Linked DNA regions of Homo sapiens: region 2 is linked to region 1. The links are contacts of gene promoters, found by promoter capture Hi-C in human tissues and cell types (Jung and others, 2019). All regions are on one chromosome and are shown on one strand. The core of a region is centred on a gene start or on the middle of the fragment in contact, and the rest is flanking DNA. Distances in the headings are between cores, read along the strand shown.

Region 1 (5,784 bases), core at 1,508-4,007:
CCTGGGTTCACGCCATTCTCCTGCCTCAGCCTCCCGAGTAGCTGGGACTACAGGCGCCCACCACCACGCCCAGCTAATTTTTTTTGTAATTTTAGTAGAGACGGGGTTTCACTGTGTTAGCCAGGATGGTCTCGATCTCCTGACCTCGTGATCCGCTGGCCTTGGCCTCCCAAAGTGCTGGGATTACAGGCGTGAGCCACCGCGTCTGGCCCATATTCTTATTCTAAAGATGCTAGGACTGCTCAAAGCGTTTTAGGAATTTATAGGACTTTTTGGCAGAATAGTCTTTTGAATAATTTCATTGGTAAAAAAACCAAATGTCATAAAAGAAAAAGAGTCTAGTAAATCACACCTCCCCAGAAAAGTGTTCCTACAATGCCCTTCTTTGAGCTCTGTGTGAGATACTGCCCTGATATAGTTTGGATGTATGTCCCTTCCAACTCTCCTGTTGAAATGTGACCTCCAATGTTGGAGGGGGGGCCTGGTGGGAGGTGTTGGATCATGGGGGTAGATCCCTCGTGAATGGCTTAGTGCCATCCTCTTGGTGATGAGTGAATTCTCGCTCAGTTGGTTCACGTGAGATCCAGTTGTTTAAGAGTCTAGGACCTCCCACTTCTCTCTCTTGCTCCCTTTCTCACCGTGTGATACACCTGCTCCCCCTTCACCTTCTGCCATGATTGGAAGCTTTTAAAGTCCTCATCAGAAGTGGATGCTGACACCATGCTTCCTGTACAGCCTACAGAACCGTGGGCCAATTAAACTTCTTATCAATTCCCCAGCCTCAGATATTTATTTAGAGCAATGTAAAAAGGGACTAATACATGCTTTTACCACTTCAGATCCCTAATCTTACTTGCTAGTGAAAAGAGTACAGGTTTTGATTTCACAGGGACCTGGGTTCCAGTCCCAGCTGTGACATTTATGTGACCTTTAGCAAGTTATACAGCTGCAACACCCACCAGGATGAGCCGGATATGGGGCGGGGTTGGAGGGTGTTGGTTGGGGAGAGGCAACTGAGGTCAGTGTCTGGGTGGGACTGGATTGGGAATAAAGCTCCCGGTCTGAGGAAGCAAACATGCCACACTCTTCAAATCCAGAAAGCAATTTAGGGGGAAGAAACCCCCACTCACCTGGACCATGGTTGGCAGGTGGCTGACAGCCATTCTTTCTTCTCCGATGAGCCCTCTTAGGGACAGGCAAAGTGCTATGGAGGCAGGTGTGGAGCTTCACACCTGCAGGACTCCTCAGGCTAGAAGGGTCCACACACCTGCTATTAGGAGAGAACTGGGTCAAAAGCTCTCATACAGCAGTCCAGAGCGAGGCAGTGAGCATTCACATCCTGGGAGGCCTCCAGTACCCCAAGCAGTGAGTGTTTTGGTTCCTGTTTGCTCCCCATTCTCTCTCCTCCTTCTGAGGGTACTATACATTGACTTTTCCCTGCAGAAAGCCTGCTCCAGGTCCAGTTCTCATGCCTTCCACCCACCCTCTGGTCTTTCCCTTCAGCCTCACTGAGCGATCTCAAGAGAATTCTTTTTTTGTTTGTTTGTTTGAGACAGAGTCTCGCTCTGTCACCTAGGCTGGAGTGCAGTGGCACGATCTTGGCTCACTGCAACCTCCGCCTTCCGGGTTCAAGCGATTCTCCCGCCCCAGTCTCCGGAGTAGCTGGGATTACACGCACCCGCCACCACGCCCGGCTAATTTTTTATATTTTTAGTAGAGACCGGGATTTCACCATGTTGGTCGGACTGGTCTCGAACTCCGGACCTCAGGTGATCGGCTCGCCTCGGCCTCCCAAAGTACTGGGATTACAGGCGTGAGCCGCCGCACTCGGCCGAGAATTATCTCTTTAACAAGTTATTCAGCTCCAGAACCCACCAGGATGTACCCGAAAAGGTGGGAGCGCTGGGGAGAGGCAACGGAGGGCAGTGTCTGGGTTCGACTGGATTGGAAGACCGCTCCGCTCTCCCTCTGCGGCTTTGGAACAGCTGCCTTATCTGGCAGTGACAGGAGAAGAGGAAAAGGAGGGTGGTCTTCTTCCTCCTCAGAAAGGAGGCTAAGAAGGCTCTTCACTGTCGAAGCCTCTCAGGCAAACCCTTCTCTGGCCTCAGTGTTCTCACTCTCTGGGGCCCAGTCTGGGTGGCCTGGAGTCACGGGTGGGCAGAAGCGGCGTTTGTGTGAGCTGGGCGGGAGGGGAGAGGGAAGGGTTAGGAACCCTAATCACACACAGCCCCGTCCCGCCCCTGCCGCTTCGCCAGGTCCCTCGGGGGCTGTGGCAGGGGCTGCGCAGCGGCTGCCTCCGGCCTTGGCGAGTTCCTGGCGCAGGACTCGGAACCACGCCAGGCGTGTATCTATCACCTGAGAGGAAACCCTGGGCTTCTCGGAGTCCGCTCCAAGACACATGCCAGAGGCCCTGGCTCCATCTCCTCCACAGGCACTCACAGACTCGACCCTCAGCCCAGGATGACCACCCCTGGCCGTCCTCCCTCTCTGGGATCAAATCTCAGACATACATTCCGGGAAGTTTGGGGCATTCGATCAGCGTCCTCCAGAATGGACCACAACCCGCACCTCCTCGGCTTTGCCTCCGCCCTTCTCCCCAGACGACCTCACGACCGCTCCCGCTCTCCCTCTGCGGCTTTGACCACCGTGCCTGGTCAGCCCCGTGTCGCTCTTCGAGGAGCCTCTGCCGGCGGCGAGAGATCGCAAGCGCCACATCGCAGTCAGAACACAATGAGCTGGAGTCTGCAGCCGGGAGCCGAACTGCGCTTGCGCGTTGCCCTGGGAACCCTTGGGCCGAATTCCCACAAGTCTCAGGGCTGCTGCAGTTCCGCCGGCCAGACTCCACTTCCCAGAGGGACAATCGGCGGAGACAGTGCTGCCTTGCGCCTGCGGGAACAGGGCCCGGCCCCGGCGCTTTAGGCGCGGAAACTACCTTTCCCAGAGACCCCTCCACGCCGACCTCAGCGCGCTCATTGCAACTTACAGAATCGGTTCCGTTCCGTTCGCTTTAGAACCAGGTCTCTGCCTTGCACTAAGGCGCAGGAAGATGCAGATCAGCGAAAAGCTGAAGATGGGGCAAGGGAGGTTAGTCCAGGGGAGCGACGCCCGATCGCTGACGAGAGAGGATCGGGAGGGTCCGGAAGACGGAGTGGGAGGCGACAGGGCGCGTTCCTGACTGGGACCGCGCCGAAAAGGCCTGGAAGGCAACAGAATTGCCCCTTGGCCTGGCAAGCGCCCGACACTTCCAGCCTGGCACTGCGGGCGGGCCAGCGTGTGCTGGGGTGGCGACGCCACAGCCACTAACGCGTGTGCGGTGCGGGAGGACAAGGATGTCGGGCAGGGATGTCCTGCTTGGCACCTCAGGACAGAGCCCATGGTGGCTGGCGGCCCCTGGAATGTTCGGGACGCAGAACACTTCGTGCTTGGGAACTTCTCAGAGGTGGGGACGAGGGAGAGGAAGGCGCCTGGATGCCAGGAAGTCTCCATCTTGGACAGCTGGGTGGTATTTAAGAAGGTGGTATTTATTTTTGTCGACCATATTTTGCAGAGACTGGCAAGGATGAGATGATGCCTAAGAATATCCAACTGGAGATACTTAGTTGCTTTTGAATAGGTAATTTGCATGGAGCTCAGGAAGGAAAGATGAGAGGGTTTTAACTTTGTTGGTCGTTAAAAAAAATCAAGAATGTGACCTGTTTGTCACATACGGAATTGTTGGCCACGTTTTAGGAAGCAGTGTCAGTGACTACAGCATTCTGTTTGGAGTTTTATTGAAGATTTCATTCCATAGACACTTTGGAGCACTTATGTGTCAAGTGCTTGACAAGGCCAGGGTCAGCCGCTGTGCAGCCCCTGTAGCAGTTCCCAGGGACCCGGCAAAGCACCAGAGGGGGAGGATGTTGTGTGAGTATCGCTGGTAACCCTTCTCTCTCGCCTCCCTCGTGACTCCAGGTCACTCAAACTGGGCTCCAGAGAGTAAGAACCCCGAGTCCAGGGGCTGGAGAAATAGCTGTGAAAACCCTGCACTCATGGAGTTTTAATTGTACTAGAGGAGGGGTCAGACAAGTAGAAAGTATTTATCTGGTAGTGATAACACTACTGTTAGGGGTTAGGGTGTGATGGGGCGGGGAATTATTTCAAGCAGCAGTTTTGGAAGTTCTCTTTGAGGAGGTAACACCTGAGCAGAGATTTGAATACAGTGAGGGAAGAAACGATGTGACTGTATGGGTAAAGTGCCTTCTAAAGGGAGGGAACAGAAATGCTGACCAGAGAGAAGTGTGCTTGGTGAACTCCAGGCTTGGCAAGGTCAGTATGACTGGCGAGGGCCTACTGAACAAGGAAGACTGCGAGATGCTGTTGCAGGAGTAACTACAGGCCTTGAAGGAAGGAAATTTGGATTTATTTCTGTGCCTGGAAATGATTAGATTTGAAAGAGTGACATGGCTGGGCACGTTTTGATAGACGCACTGGTCAGCTTCAAAGAAGGCAGACAGTGGTGGGGCTAGAGGGGATACAGGAAGACCAATGAGGAGGCAATGACAGCAGTCCACAATTACAAGTAGCCTCCCACAATTATATAACCTTTCCACAAGGCATTTGCTTTGAGAGCCTAATGATTCTAAGATATTGAAGGGTTTTGGGTGCTATGCTCAGGAGTTTGGATATTATTGTTTTCAGGAATTTAAGAATGATAATATGTATTGAGCACTAACTACATGTTGGGAGTTTTTTTGTTTGAGACACAGTTTCACTTTTGTTGCCCGGGCTGGGGTGCAATGGCATGACCTCGGCTTACCGCAAGCTCCGCCTCCCGGGTTCAAGCAATTCTCCTGCCTCAGCCTCCCCTGTAGCTGGGACTACATGCATGCGCCATCACGCCTGGATAATTTTGTACTTTTAGTAGAGATGGGGTTTCCCCAGGTTGGTCAGGCTGAACTCCTGACTTCAGGTGATCCGCCCGCATCGGCCCCCTAAAGTGCTGGGATTACAGGCATGAGCCACTGCGCCTGGCCATGTTGGGCACTTTTACAAGCACTTTACATTATCTAATGCAACCAAAAACTGAGGTTTGCCCTATTAATAAATGAGAAAACTGAGGCACTCATCTGTTAAGTGCCTTGCTCAGGTCCCATGTCCTTGGAACCAGGAGTCCTTCTCCTGTTGATGTTGGAAGGTTCAAAAGTGCTCTTATTACTTGTCACCCAGATGGCAAAGAACTGACATACAAAGGCCCAAGTCTTCCAGAACTGAAAACAGTAATAAAACCTTCATTTATCTGACCCATTTGTCCTGGTGATGCTGTAGTCTGTTAGGAGTACCTAACAGGTGCCCTTCCACAGCCAACTAAAAAACAAAACTATTCAAGCTGAAGAGAAGCAGTGAAACCTCTGATATGAAGCCTGACACACCCTTTGACTTTAGCCAGGACTCACACACTATATTGTTCTGAGTATTCACTGAGGAAGCCCCCGCTTCTGTCAAGGATTCTCATCAGGAACCAGTCTCCTCGGAGAAAGGAGGTTAAAACGTGGTCTGGAGAACCCCTTTCCCTTCTGCTCTATTAACTATGGATATGCAAATGAACACTTACATTTGACCAAGACCTCCATCACCAGTCTGCTTACGCTTCCCCAGGACAGTGGCTACGTGCCAGTAATTCCTGGTGTCCATTTGCTGAGCCCTGTTGGGACCCTTGAAGCGTGATATAATAAGGTCTTCCTTTAGCCTCATTTCTTCCTGCTTCTTGACTTCTACTCTATGCTTAAATCATACATCTCTTAGAAT
Region 2 (5,784 bases), core at 1,371-3,870, 37 kb before region 1:
GCGGGAGTGAGCTGAGGAACTGGGGTGCGCCCCCATGAGATTCCCAATGCCATGGGCTTTCCCCCATCCCCCCGGGATTGGGCAAGGTCAGACTTAGAGTACAGCTGTTTTCCTCCCCTCTGTGTACTCCCTTAAATCACCCCAACCTTGGCCAGGCATGGTGGCTCACACCTGTAATCCCAGCACTTTGGGAGGCCGAGGCAGGTGGATCACCTGAGGTCCGGAGTTCGAGACCAGCCTGGCCAATGTGGTGAAACCCTGTCTCTACTAAAAATACAAAAATTAGCCAGGTGTGATGGTGGGTGCCTGTAATCCCAGTTACTTGGGAGGCTGAGGCAGGAGAATCGCTTGAACCTGGGAGGTGGAGGTTGCAGTGAGCTGTGATTGTGCCACTGTACTCCAGCCTGGGTGACAGAGCGAGACTCTGTCTCAAAAAAACAAAACAAAAAAACACCAAAAAAACCCCCAAACCTGAAGAAATTCAGATACACGTGTGTAATGTTAGTGATGTGAGAACAAGGAGCAGGGGTGCATTTGTGTTGTGTTCGGGTTGGGGATGGGTTTAGGAGCTCCAGGTTGGGAGCAGTGACAGAGAGTCATGGCCGTGGTGAGGGTGAATCCCAAGTGGATGGCTCAGGACGGGTATGGAAACCCTTCATTCCTCATAGGTACTGGGAAGTCCATTTGCAAGCTGAGCGCCAGGCCTGGGGAGGAAGAGGCTTGGGCTGCAGATGCACGCACATTTGTTTTTCACTGATAGTTTTTACAAAAAGCTTGGTTTAAGTTATGGAGTTTTATGTCCCTGGGAGTAGAATTTACATTTGTTAAATTGACCACTGTTTAAGATCAGTATACATTCTCTAGTCTGTGATGTCTGGAGCTAGTTTTGAGGGTGAACCACACTTTATCCAACATACAAACTTTCCCATGCAGCTTCTCTGGTGCGCAGTTGGTTTTGACCGTGGGACTAGGTGCTTCTGCAGGTTTTAAGTAATTAACTTAAAAGCTTCTCCTCTGAGAAACATTTCTGTTGCGCTACTGACTCTCCTTCTCCACATTTGTTGTGTTCCTAGGGCTTCTCTATAGTGCACATTAGGACGTTTCATTTGTTGCTGAATGCTTTCCAGAATTATTTATTCCATAGGGTTTCTCTCCTGTGCAGCTCTCTCATGGGTAATGGGGCGTGTTTTCTTGCCAAAGGCGGTTCCACCCTCGTGATTGTATAGGGCTCTTCTCCTGTATGAACTCTGAGATCAGTGAGCTCTGATCTCCAAGGGAAAGTTTTCCTGCATTTGCTGTTTTCTCATGTCTCTCCCAGTGTGAATTCTTTGGTGTGCAGTGCGCTCTGGCTTCTAGCTGAAAACTTTTCCACAGTTTTACATTCATGTGGTTTTCTCCACTGTGAACTCTGTGATTCAGAATCAGAAGCAGTTCTTAGTAGAGGCATTTCTACACTGATTGCACTGAGGATTTCTCCCCAGTGTGAAGTTTCTGGCATAGAGTCCTGGCTTCCCGCAGACGACTTTCACACTCTGCCATGTTCATGCCTGTGGGCCTCTCTGGCAGGAACTCTGATGCACCGCGAGGCCCATGTACTCCTGTGGCTTTCTCACATTCGGTCTACTTGCAGGGTATCTCCACAGCATGCACCATTCTGGGTACAGGGGGACATCCTCTGTTACTGAAGATGTTGTCATATTTAGTACCTTCACAAGGTTTCTCTCCTTCCAGAATTTTCTGATGTACACAAATAACTGACTTCCACAAGAGGGCTTTTCCACACTCGGTGTGTGCATACAGTTTCTGCCTGTGATCATTTCTTTATGTTATTATTTTATTTTTTCGAGATAGGGTCTTGCTCAATTTCTTAGGCTGGAGTGCAGTGGCACGATCATAGCTCACTGAAGTTTCGACCTGGGCTCAAGCAATCCTCCCGCTTCAGCCTCCTGAGTAGCTGGTGCGCACGACCATACCCAGCTAATGTTTTATTTTTTGTAGAGACGAGGTCTCACTATGTTGCCCAGGCTGGTCTCGAACTTCTGAGCTCGAGCGATCCTCCTGCCTCCACCTCCCAAAGTGTTCGGATTACAAACGTGAGCCATCGCACCTAGCCTCTTTGATCATTTCTGTGGTGTTCAGTGGAGGTTGACAGCTCCCTAAAGATTTTCCTGTTTTTTTGCATGCATGGGTTTGAATTCTTTGAGGTCCAATTTATTTGGACCCCTGAATAAAGTTTTGTGGGTTTTCTTCTATGTGTGGAATTTATAAGGCATTCTTCCAGTGTGGTTTCTCTTATGTCGAGTGAGAGCTGACCTGCACCGAAGGTTTTGTCCCATTTGTTGCCCTTGAATTATTTGTATGAATTATATGTTCCAGTGAAAATGGAGTTCTGGGTTGGAGGCTTATTCCATGTTTACACAATTAAAATTGCAGTGTTCCTCTCTGGGATGAGAGCTCTAAAGCAGAGTAAGATTACGTTCTGATGTAAGCTTTAACCACCTATTTATAAGGTCTCACCTGTGGTCCACTGTGTTGAGACTTCTACAGAAGAGCTTCTGTATAGTAACCATTTTCTTAGGCTGTCTCACTTGTGTGAATCTTCTGACACATTTATTATAGCTTTGTCCCATTTCTTATCCTTTTTGCTCTTTAGAAATTTCCCTTTAATTTATTACATTCATTGCTTACTGTAAAGAGTCCAGGTAACTGACTTTATTCAGTTACTTCCTGTTCAATAAATTTAACTTTTCCCAAAAGTTTGACTTAGGTCTTCGGTTGCTTCTTTATACAGATATTGTTTCATAAAACTTCTTCAAAAATGGAATAAAATGCACAATTCCAAGTGAATCTTCTCATCATTTTATAGAATGAAACTGCTTCACAAATACTCTTTGTTATATTGATACCTTTGTTTCTAAACGTGAAAAATTCCAAACTAAATATTTTCTATCTCTTGGGCTTTGACAGGGGAAAAACTGCTGTAGTATGGACAGCCAGAGTGGAATACTGATGCTTATTACAAGTAGCTTGGGGGGTTTCAAAAATGACATTCCACCCTGTGGAGAAAAGGCTGAAGAAATGTAAGGGATAGGAACCAAGAAGGAATAAGGCTCTGATAAGAAGAAACTGACCAGTTGGATAGAATTCTAAAAGGCACGCAAGGGTGTAGAGAAGTAAATTAGTAAAAGGACTGGATCTGGCTGAGTGCAGTGGCTCATGCCTGTAATCTTGGCACTTTGGGAGGCTGAGGTGAGTGGATCACTTGAGGCCAGGAGTTCAAGACCAGCCTGGCCAACATGGCGAAACACCATCTCGGCAAAACACCATCTCTACTAAAAACACAAAATTAGCTGGGCATGGTGGCACATGTCTGCAATCCCAGTTACTCGGGGGGCTGAGGCTGGAGAATCGCTTGAACCCGGGAGGCGGAGGTTTCTGTGAGTTGAGATCGTGCCATTGCACTCCAGCCTGGGCAACAAAGAAAAACTCTGTCTCCAAAAAAAAAAAAAAGAAGACTGAATTTGAAAATTTTAAGCCTCATCACTTCATTTGTGGATTACTGTTTTACTCTATTCAGGCTGCTATAAAAGAGTACCATAGACTCAGTGGCTTCTAAAAAACAGACATTTCTCATAGTTCTGGAGGCTGGAAAGTCCAAGAGCAAGACACCAGTGGATTTGGTGAGGGCTGCCTGCTTGTTCTTAAACAGCACTCCCTTGCTGTGTCCTCATATGGTGGGAAGTGTGAGGGCACCCTGGGGTCTCTTTTATAAGGGCTCTAATCCCATTCCCGAGGGCTCTACTTTCATAACCTCCCAAAGGCCCCAGCTCCAAATACCATACAATGGGGGTTAGGATCTCACCATATGCATTTTGGAGCAACATGAATATTCAACCTATAGCAATTATTCTGTCAGAATACTAACTAGTCTTTCTGCTTCTTGTATCTTTTCCCTCTTATTCATCCTACATAGTATTATAAAAATCACCGTTCCATGGCACCGTGGTGCTGTGTCCCATTGCTAGGGTCCCAGCCATCTCCTGTCACCTCCATCTGGCTGTGGTTTATTCTCAAATTTACCTGCAGACTCTCCTAACAGAAACAGCAGAGAGGGCACATTAGTCTAGGGGAACACGGCCCCAGGCACTGTGCACTGATACAATCTGCCAGATTGGGTCTGATCAGAGCTCTCAAATACTGAATATACCTGTAGTATCAACATCTGAGTTATTTTTCCCATTCTGGTCTGCAGACAGGTAAGACAGGTAAAACTTCCAGGGCACACAGACCTTGTCTTGCCCATGCCCTGTGTACTTCTTTAAGTCAGCTTTCACAGCTTGACCTTGCACTGTGTCATGGTTAAGTCTTCTTGAGGTCAACTCCAGCTCTGCTAGATGAGTGACCTTGGGCAAGATACTCATTCCTCCCACAGTCACTAAAAGCCAGAGTCTCCTTAATGCACCCTGCAGAGGTGCCCAAATTGCTGGCCCCATTAGCCTACCATTGATCCTCCCAGTCCTACCAATCACTGCCCACACAGACCCCACTCATTAACCCAGCCCCACAGCTGAGCAGTCCCAGGACCCCATCTCACTCCCAGCTAGCCCCTCCTCACTGCCCCCCACAGACTGCTTATTCATTTTGGTCCCACAGGTACCCTTGGGTGCTTACTCTGTGCTAAGCACCTGGGATACATCAGCAGACAAAATAGACAGGAACTGCTTCCCTCATAGGACTTGCACCCTAGTGGTGGAGACACACAATAAACAACATACAAAACTAACCAATAAATGACACTGTATGTTAAAGGGTGATGTGCTGTGGACAAAAGAAAACAGCAGAGCAGGGTACAGAGAATGGGGCAGCTGGCGGGGGATGGCTGCAATTTTGAATAGGGCAATCCAGTACAGGCTTCATCTGAAGGAGGTGGGGAGTGAGCCATGGGGATATCTGGGGGATGGGGTCCTGCAGGCGGAGTGGCAAGTGCAAGGCCCAAGGGCAGGGGTCGGCCTGGTGTTTTGGGGACCAAGCAAAGAGAGTGGCATGGAGGAGTAGGGTGAGCAGGGGAGAAAATGTGAGGAAGGCAGCAGAGTGGAGCAGTCAGGGCTCTCCAGAGAACAGAGCCCAAAGGATCAACAGATTAGATGTAGATATAGATTAGATAAAGATATAGAGAGAGAGTTTTGCTCCGAAGGCCTTCAACTGATTGGAAGAGGCCCACCCAGATGATTGGGGGTAAATCTCCTTTACCTAAAGTCAGCTGATTGTAGAGGTTACCCACATCTACAAAACACACCTTCACAGCAACATCTAGATCAGTGTTTGATTAAGTAACTGAGTACCATAGCCTGGCCAGGTGACACATCAAGCTAACCGTCACCTGAGGCACTGGGGTATGTATACCATGTGTGGCCCTGTAGGCCAAGGCCACTAAAATCAAGGACTTTAATTTACTCGGGGTGAGAAGAGGAGACACTGGAGGGTTTTAATAACAGTTAGATGGTCTGATGAACAAAAGGACCACTCTGGCTACTGTGTTGAGAATGTTTTAGCAACATCTTTTGTACACATGTCTTTTCAGAGTATATTACATGCAGAATAGTGTAGTGGACACCTTTATTCATTGAAACAACACATCTTAATCATGCACCAAGCTGCACTCTTGAAACATCTTCTGTGCACGTGTTTTCAAAAAGTGTTTCACATGCAGAGCAGTTGTAGTGGTCACATTCATTCACTGGAGTAATACTGCTCTCAAACGTGCACCACTGGCATACTTAGAAA

What was found. The method cuts DNA at HindIII sites, captures the fragments that hold promoters and counts their contacts. A contact is called where the count stands out against the background at its distance.
Region 2: a fragment that was not itself captured here is called in contact with the fragment with the promoter of ZNF454 in region 1 in 1 of the 25 tissues and cell types used here (pancreas).

Annotation. Positions count from the first base shown.
Region 1 is chr5:178,938,171-178,943,954 of GRCh38, reverse strand. It overlaps ZNF454 (zinc finger protein 454), which reads right to left and starts at 2,757. Exons shown (of 5, transcript NM_001178089.3): 1 at 2,511-2,757; 2 at 1,131-1,270. The coding sequence starts at 1,163. It overlaps ZNF454-DT (ZNF454 divergent transcript), which reads left to right and starts at 2,940. Exons shown (of 1, transcript NR_186409.1): 1 at 2,940-5,279. The HindIII fragment of the contact is 17,658 bases long and covers 1-5,784 here.
Region 2 is chr5:178,975,299-178,981,082 of GRCh38, reverse strand. GRM6 (glutamate metabotropic receptor 6) reads left to right here. Exons shown (of 11, transcript NM_000843.4): 11 at 1-2,756. It also overlaps a transcript of ZNF454 not described here. Among named protein-coding and RNA genes, the nearest start is that of GRM6, 17 kb to the left of the region's middle. The HindIII fragment of the contact is 3,460 bases long and covers 891-4,350 here.